Linked DNA regions of Homo sapiens: region 2 is linked to region 1. The links are contacts of gene promoters, found by promoter capture Hi-C in blood cells and fetal thymus (Javierre and others, 2016). All regions are on one chromosome and are shown on one strand. The core of a region is centred on a gene start or on the middle of the fragment in contact, and the rest is flanking DNA. Distances in the headings are between cores, read along the strand shown.

The links. Contacts are between HindIII fragments. The CHiCAGO score rates a contact against its expected background, and 5 or more counts as called.
Region 2: a contact is called between the fragment with the promoter of BIRC7 here and the fragment with the promoter of CHRNA4 in region 1, in 1 of 17 cell types (endothelial precursors). The highest score is 5.1, in endothelial precursors.

Annotation. Positions count from the first base shown.
Region 1 is chr20:63,359,851-63,365,150 of GRCh38, forward strand. It overlaps CHRNA4 (cholinergic receptor nicotinic alpha 4 subunit), which reads right to left and starts at 1,499. Exons shown (of 6, transcript NM_000744.7): 1 at 1,240-1,499. The coding sequence starts at 1,315. LOC100130587 (a long non-coding RNA gene) reads left to right here and starts at 138. Exons shown (of 5, transcript NR_110634.1): 1 at 138-319; 2 at 1,968-2,091; 3 at 4,365-4,427. RefSeq lists an enhancer at 1,607-2,240. The HindIII fragment of the contact is 20,478 bases long and covers 158-5,300 here.
Region 2 is chr20:63,234,653-63,237,706 of GRCh38, forward strand. It overlaps BIRC7 (baculoviral IAP repeat containing 7), which reads left to right and starts at 1,253. Exons shown (of 7, transcript NM_139317.3): 1 at 1,253-1,793. The coding sequence starts at 1,445. RefSeq lists enhancers at 69-670, 1,018-1,137. The HindIII fragment of the contact is 21,330 bases long and covers 1-3,054 here.

The DNA.
Region 1 (5,300 bases), core at 249-2,748:
GTGTGCCGGGCGTGCGCTCTGTGTGTGTGTGTGTGCCGGGCGTGTGCTGTGTGTGTGTGTGTGTGTGTGTGTGTGTGTGCCGGGCGTGGCGTGCGCTGACCTCTCTTGGCCTCCGGCTCTCTCCCACCCCTGGGTGTAATTGTGATTTCCTCGGGGAAGCTTCCCAGGCCCCTCAGCCCACGGAGGCCTTCCCAGCACCTTGACCGCACCACAAAACCAGGCGGCGGATGGGCCGAGGACTGCTTTGGGTCTCCTGTCACACTGACTTCCAGGGAAGGGCTGTGTCTCTAGCAGCTGGCGAGTCAGAGGACACTCGGGGGTAACAGCAGCAAAGGAGGGAGTACAGGGCAGCGGGGCCAGCCCAGGCAGGAAGAGGGAGGAAGGGGAAGGAGGATCGGGCCCCCACAAGCGCCCGCTTCCTACGGAACCTCCCCTGGTTCATCAATCCCCTGATGCCCGAGGAGTGTTTCAGATGCAGACCCCAACGAGGTGCCAGCCCCCTCCGCACCCCAGCCTGCCCGTGCTGTTGGGCAGACCCAGAACGCCCCTGATGAGTCGCTCTGGAGGAGCACAGCCCTAGGTCCATCTGTGCTCCAGGTCCGGGGCCCCAGGATCTGAGGCATTCCCCGCCTGTCCTGGGCGCTGCCATAAGGGGCGGGTCTGGGCGGAGGGGGAGACCTCCACCTCCCTGGTGGGTCCCGCTGGCCTGAGAGCGCAGACAGGACTCGGGGAGGGGGAGGGGTCAGTTCTACACCCCTGGGAGCCTTGACTCCCAGCCCAGAGTCCCCACCCGCGACCTTGTCCTTCCTGCAGAAAAGGTGGGTGGCGGCCGCCAAGGGCAGAGGCCACCCCTCTGATCCCCTAAACCGGAGGAAGCAGGCATGGGGGTCTTCAGGGAAATTTAGCTGGATGGATGGGGGAAGGGCGAAGGTGGCCCCACCTCTGCTCAAGTTCGAGCTTTTGGGGCCAGCCCTGAAATAGCAGCGGAACCCCCCACACCCCGCGGAAAGCCCCTTTCCCAGCCCTCCGCATTCGCCGGCGGTCAACTCCCTCCTCGCCTGGCTCAGCCCGGGTGCGAGCGCAGCCTGTGCGGCTGGGGATGGGGAGCCTCGCGGTCGCCCAGTCGCGCGCACCCGCGGCTTGGGACCGCAGTCAGGAGCCTGCCTCCCTCTGGCTCTGGGGGTCCCAGGCCATCCGAACGCGGGCGAAAGGGGGCCCATCCCGCGCCCCGTAACTTACCGCGCAGGAGGCCGGTCCCCAGAAGCAGCAGCAGCGGCGGCAGCAGCCGCGGCGCTCCGGGGCCCCCTAGCTCCATGGCGCACGCACCTCGCGGGCTCTAGATGCGGGCGGCTCCCGGCTCCCCGCCGCTTCGAGGCCCGTGCGCGCCCAACTTCATGCCTCCCGCGCCTCGCGGGCCGCTTCGGCCGCCGGGCCCGGTTCGTCTTCTCCTGTGGGGCGCGGTGCGGCGGCGGCGCGGCAGGGAGCGCCGGGCTGTGGGCTCCGTGGCGCGGCCCCGCCCGGCCCTGCCCGCCTCAGCCGGCTGGGAGGGGGAGCAGGGGAGGGGGGAGGAGGGGGAGCAGGGGAGGGGGAGGGAACGGAGAGTGAAAAGGGAGGAGGGAGCAAGGGCCAGGGAGAATGAGCAGGGATGGACCGCGCGCCCAGGGGGACGGGGAGGCTGCGCTGGGCCCCGGGCGGGGGTAAAGTTTCCTTGTTCTCCTGGGGTTCGAGACGTGCCTGAGCCGGGGACGGGGACCCCGGGGTCACTGAGTGCGACTGGGGGGTCCCGGAGTCAGTCTGACCTCCCTCCCCACATCTCCAGCCTGGGCGCCCGCTCCCTGCCTGCAGGGGTGGGGGGCACATCTAGGGGATCCGGCGCAAGGAGGGGCACCCCTAGCACATCTGGGTTACTCCATCGCGCCAGCCGGTGTCTGCAGCCTGAAAATCGCGTCTCTGGTCTTGTTCCCCAGCGAGCCGTTCAGGACTCTCTGTCCGCCTGCAGCCCCCGCCTTCCCTGGTACCTCCGCAGAGACCCAAGAGGCGTCCAGAGGGGAGCCCAGGCGCACGGTCCCCAGGGAGGGGCCCCGCCCTCAGGTGGGTGCCGAGGTGGCCGCCCACAGAGCAGCAGGTGCGTTGGAGGAGGGGCGCCTTGTGCGGCTGAATCTCGTGTGCAGGAGGAGAGGGCGAGGCTCTGCAGAAACATCAGACCCGGCCATCCCTGTAGCCGCGCCCCTGGCCCAGCCTCAGGCTCTGCAGCTGGGACACAGCCCCCGAAAACGGAGATTTCCGTCGTCGGTAATGGAAGGCAGAGCAGAAGGGGCTGGAGAGGTCCGGTGACCCTCCGCATTCACGCCCCTCCCTCCAAGGCTGCAAGGCTGCTGGTCGGGCGAGGGGGCTCCGTCAGGAGTTCCCTGCAGCAACCCCCTCTCCAGCACAGGCCTCTGGAGCCCTACAGCTCCTGCCCCTCCCATCGCTCTCCCATCTCCCCTGTCCCTACCCCCTACCTTCCTTCTCCTCCTCCCCCCAGCTTCCCTGAGCAGCCACTGCTCCTGCCCACCCCTCTCCCCCCTCCCTGCCCACCTCTGGTTCCAGGTTGAGCTCATGGCTCCTCATACACCTGCTTTGGGACGGGCAGGAGCTCTTCCTCACTGGCCAGAGCTGTCTGTCCGCTCTGTGGGCAGTGCCTACAATTAGAGCTTTCAGAACACACAGCCGCTGCACAGTGGCTGGTCCAACGACGACACTGCCCTCCTGAATTGCCTGGTCCAGCGACAACACCTGCCCTGCTTCTGTGGCCTTCCCACATGCTGGTCCAAGCAAGCTGGATGCAGGGACCCCCTGCACTTCCACGGCCCCCTTGAGGTGGCCTCTTCAATTGTCCCTACGTTACCAAAGAGATAACACAGGTGCGGAGAGGCCGAGCGACTTGCCGAAGCTCACAGTCAGTACTGGGATTCCAACCCAGGCCATCTGGCTTTAGGGTCTGCACCCCGGCCTCCTGCTGGCCTCAGATGTAGTTTTGGGCTGACGTGCCCTCACTGGGACAGCCTCCTGGGAGATCCCAGGTCTACTTTCCTGAACTCTTTCCTGGAGCCATGGGTGTCTGCCACCCACCCTGCTGACGGCTCTCCCTCAGACCACCCTGCAGATCCAACCCTCGATGGTTTCAAGGGCCTGTTTCCCTAGGCAGACTGAAGTCCCCCAAGGAAGGATTCCCTCTCCTCCTCCTCCTCTCCTTGCTCTTCCCAAGCCCCTGGGCAGTGCAAGACCCTGGTCCTTCTGGCCTACATGAAGCCCCTCCATGGGCCAGTTCTGTGCCAGGAACTAGAAGGTTCCAAGCTGGATGGATATTTGGGCTGAGCAAGCAGCTGGTAAACACAGGGAGGGGAGAAGAGCAAAGTCCCCCGAGGCCCCGTGAGGGCAGCCTGCTGACCTCTGACCTCTGACCCACTCACAGAACCCCACCCCCGCTCCCTGCGGCACAGCCCATGAGGCTCTCTGCTTAGGAAGGGGACAGAGAGGTGGCAAGGCCAGCGGTTCCCGCATGGTATAGACTGGCCTCTGCCCTTTGGTTCAGGCCCCACCTTGGTGAGAAGCCCCTGCCTGTGGTGTCGCAGAGCAAATGCCATTGGCAGAGCCAAATCCACATTCTTTTGTGAGTGGAGAGGCCAGCCGTGCTGCGGTCCCTGCTGGAGCCCCTGTGACACGGGGTTATCGTTTCTCTGACTTGGCAGCTGGCCGAAACGGGGCTCTTCTGCTGATAAAGTGATGTCCACTCGTGGGTTCCACACCCTCGTGGGTGCCTCACCCTCCCGTGGCAAACCAAAGACCTCTTTGGGAAGAGGACACCCCTGCTCCTGCACTTGGGCTCATGGTTTCCCCCTGGACTTGTTAAAATCGAGGCCTCCTGTGGAGATTATCTGGGGTCACAGCAGAGCGGGGGGCGTGTGGTGAGCTGGGTGAATCCCTGAAGGGCCACGGGTGTCCACTCAGCCGTGCGTGGGGGCGTTTGTTTAACTCCAGATTCTGGAGCTCCACCCTCAGAGACTGTTCAGTCTGGGGTGAGGCCTCCAAATCTGTGGCTTCCACCAGCCATTGCTGGCAGCTCTGATGCAGGCGGCCCCAGAGTGCCCGGAGAAATGTCAGCTTAGAGCCACTTGGCCCAGGGCTGATGTGGAGGGTCAGGGTTCCCCACCGCAGCCAGGGCTCAGCCCGAACCTGGTGTCCTGGCCTGGGGCAGGGGCTGGAATTTGTCCCCCGTTGGTGCAGGGGAAGAGGCCGTGGGCCTCGGCAGGAGCCTAGCAGAGGCTCTGAGACTAAGCCAGCTTTGCCTTTTCTGTCTCCTCCTCACTTTTCTAACAAAACAGGCCCAGGCTTCCACAGGGTCAAGCGGTCTCAAGCCGGCGGCTCTCCCTGGTGGATTCCTGCAGGTGAGTTCACTCTGAGAGCTCAGCCAGGGCCAGCAGGCCTGTCTCTCCCGGAGCCAGGGGCCAGGCCGGGTCAGCTGGACGCCCGGGGCTCTGGTGACACAGCCCTGCGGCCGAGTGCACACGCTCACACACATCTGTCCAACCTCACTGGCTTTCCCTTTGGATTTGCTAATGCAGCAAGATTAATCAGGTCTAACTCATTAATTTGCACAGCCCCTCCCTCCCACCTGCGCCCGCTGGAGAGCGCTGGTTGTGGGAACCCAGTAATCACCGAGGCTGAATTAGATTCCTACTCCACATCCTGGCCCTTGCCTCTGCTGCTCCTGAAATTGCTGCTTCAAAGGAAACAAAAACTCTGGATTCAAAGTCCAGTGAGACCAGATTTGGGGGCACAGCTTTTCTGTGGCCTGAGCCGCCCTAGGGGGCTTGCGGGTAGGTTGGGGGACACTACCAGGCCCTTGCAGACACCAGCCCCCGCCCCCCACCCTGGGGGACACAACCAGGCCCTTGCAGACACCAGCCCCTGCCCCCCACCCTCCCCATGTCACCACCAACTCCAGGCTGCCACTGGCTACGGTGCAAAGCAGCTCCCCTGGGAGCACGGCTCTGGGGGTGATTTTTCTCTCTCCCTCACTGCTGTCTACCTGCCCATGGTAACCGAGGGTTTGTAGTAAAGGTGAGCATTGCGGGGCACCAGCTGAGCCTGAGCCGCACCCAAGGAGATGGCTGTGGGAGGCAGGAGGCATCCAGCCCCAGGTCCCAGTGCTGGGACGCGCTGTGGGCTCAGCCCATGGACAGGGGGCCCTGCCTGTGCTCCCATCCCCCCCAAGGGCCTCCCCCTCCTGCAGCTGGGCCTCGCCCATCCCTACCGTG
Region 2 (3,054 bases), core at 3-2,502, 130 kb before region 1:
GGCCTTGCATAGGAAAGGGTTGGGGGTCTCGCTGGGGCCTGGCAACACTGGCCTGAGTATGACCAGAACAGTCACCAGAGGCCTCCTGGGAGGGCGGGTGCAGCCCCAGCCCCCGCCGTGAGTGGGGGTCGGGGGGCAGGTGTGAAAGTGTGGTGGGCAGCAGCTGGGTCTATGCGGCTCAGCAGTGGGAAGAGAACGGGCCAGGCTTCCAGGTGAGCTCAGGGACGGTTTTCACTGCAGCTAACCCTCTCCTGCCCACCTGCGCTCCCCGTGGCAACCAGCGGCCCTGCAGCGTGCGACTCCTCTTTATTCTTCCAAACTCTGTGAGCCTGCACGCTCCCATCCAGGACGGAACAGCAGGGGAGAGTGGCTGAAGGATGACAGGGGGCTTTTAGGGCCAGCCGGGTGGATGAGCTGGGTTTGCTGGGGTTGAGGGCTCAGTCGGGGGTTGGGGGGTGTCGAAGTCTGGGCCCCATCCAGCTGTCCTTTTTGTCCCGCCCAGGTGTCCCTGGGGTTCCTGTTCTGCCCCTGGCTTCTCTGGGGTTAAGTCCTCCTCCCTGTTCCCTCACTGTGGGGTTTGGCAGTGTGGCACAGTGTGGAGCTTGGACCGGCAGCCAGGGTCACAGCAGACCTCAGGAACTCCGATTCCAGTGCCAACACTGAGTACTCCTCTTTTGGGGGCATCAGAGCCTCTCCCTTGGCTACCTGGGGAGGCTGGTATGGAGGGAGGTGGAGGGAGATGGGGGAAGGGGGAGCGGGAGGTGAGGGCAGCTCGGGCCCTTCTTTTTGCTCTGATCTTCCTGGCCTGAGGACAAGAGCTGCTCCCAGACCTGCAGAGGCCCCTTGGGGCAGAGGGATGTTTCAGAGAACAGCCGGGTGACCTGCCTCCCTGCTCTGCGTGACGCAGCCCTAGGCCCCTGTGAGGCTAGAGTCACCCCCGCAAGGTGGGAGGTCACGGCCCCTGCCTGCACAGGCAGCACAGCTCACATGTCCTTCCTTGAGCCTTCTCTGCTTCCGGAGGCTGCCCTGGGCGCCTGACCTTGGAGCCATCATCTCCAGCTCCCCAACCCCTCCCCCACAGCCCTGGGGCAGACACCAGCCTGGGGAGGGGTCTCCATGCTCAGTTCCTTCCCGTCTTGTTCAGAGAGACGTGGCCTGCCCACGTGCAGTCAGCGGCATCCGCAACCCTGCCAGGGGCCCCGTGACACGCCCCCGCTGCACAGAGCATGTGACCCCAGAGGCCACCCTGGCCACTTCCAGAAAGCTGTGGGCCCTGGGATACTCCCCTCCCAGGGTGTCTGGTGGCAGGCCTGTGCCTATCCCTGCTGTCCCCAGGGTGGGCCCCGGGGGTCAGGAGCTCCAGAAGGGCCAGCTGGGCATATTCTGAGATTGGCCATCAGCCCCCATTTCTGCTGCAAACCTGGTCAGAGCCAGTGTTCCCTCCATGGGACCTAAAGACAGTGCCAAGTGCCTGCACCGTGGACCACAGCCGAGCCACTGGGCAGCCGGTGATGGTCCCACGCAGGAGCGCTGTGGACCCCGCTCTCTGGGCAGCCCTGTCCTAGGCCTGGACACCTGCAGAGCCTGGGACCACGTGGATGGGCAGATCCTGGGCCAGCTGCGGCCCCTGACAGAGGAGGAAGAGGAGGAGGGCGCCGGGGCCACCTTGTCCAGGGGGCCTGCCTTCCCCGGCATGGGCTCTGAGGAGTTGCGTCTGGCCTCCTTCTATGACTGGCCGCTGACTGCTGAGGTGCCACCCGAGCTGCTGGCTGCTGCCGGCTTCTTCCACACAGGTCAGTCCCGGGCGGGGGGGCCTTCCTGCCGTGGGCCTGGGCACGATTCTGGACCCTTCCAGCCCAGGGCTCTGCCTCCTCCGTAGCATCCATCCCCCAACAGGAAGGGTCTGGCCTGATGACGGAGCAGTGGTCCTGCAAGCCCCTCCAGTGCCCATGGGCTCGTGCCTGACACCCTCCCCCGGAGTCTCTGCTGGCTGAGTGTTTCAGACCGTGGGATGTGAGGAGGGGCTGCCTCTGGCCACAGTCTGAGGGTCTCAGCTGTGGAGGCCGCCAGCTTGGTGCACAAGTACCCCTTTGTGATAGAAGTGGGTGGGGCTGACATTGCCTGGGGCCCTCACCTTCCCCGCTGCTGTTCTGCACAGGGAGAGGAGATGTTTAAAGAACAGGATCAGGGTGACCAAGGCAGGCAGTGGTCAGCCAGAAGGTCCTGGATGCTCAGCCTGTGGGGAATTTCTCCAGGCCCCAACCTGCAGCTACTGTCTGGTCTTCCCCAACTGAATCAAGTCCCCGGAGTACCTATCCTAGTCTTGGCCCGGGCCTGCTCCTCTGCCCTACAGCTGCAGACCATGTGGTCAGACCTGAGTTCAGGTCCCAGCTCTGCCACTTCCTGGCTGAAGGACAGGGCAGCAGGGCCCACCGAGGGCTTTACAAATACTGGCACAGCCATGGTCATTGTCAGCAGTGGGCTCTGGCGGGGCACCATCCTGGTAAGGCTGGACCAACTTAAGACAGCTGGTCGGGGGGACAGTGGCTGGGACAGTCAGAAGCCGTGGCGTGAAGGGGCAGGCCCAGCTCACCCACCTCCCTGGAAGTCCAAGGCTCAGGAGGCAAAGGCCAGGCAAGAGGCATGGCAGGTGCAGAGCCGGGGTCTTTGGGGCTGGTAGAGGTCCAGTGCCCGATGCAGCCCAAACCTGTGATGTCAGTGGCAGGTGACGTATCGCATGGATGCCGATGAGGGGACGGGGTCGCCAGGAGGTAGAGAGATGACGGGTCCCCCACCCCCAAAGGGAGGCATGAGTTCCTAAAAGCAAGCCTGGCCCCAGACTGGCCTTCTAGGGCAGCCTCCCTTCTTCTTCTCACTGGGAATCCATCTTGGGGAAGCAGAGACCTGGGGAGGGGCCCTTCTGGCTCCTGAAGCCCCAGGGCTATAGATGTACCAAGCCCTGGGGGGCCCCCACTGCTCACTCTGGGAACAATGCAAATGCCAGCTCAGTCCTTTCCTGAACATTCTCGCCCATCCTGGCCGGCACCCCAGTCA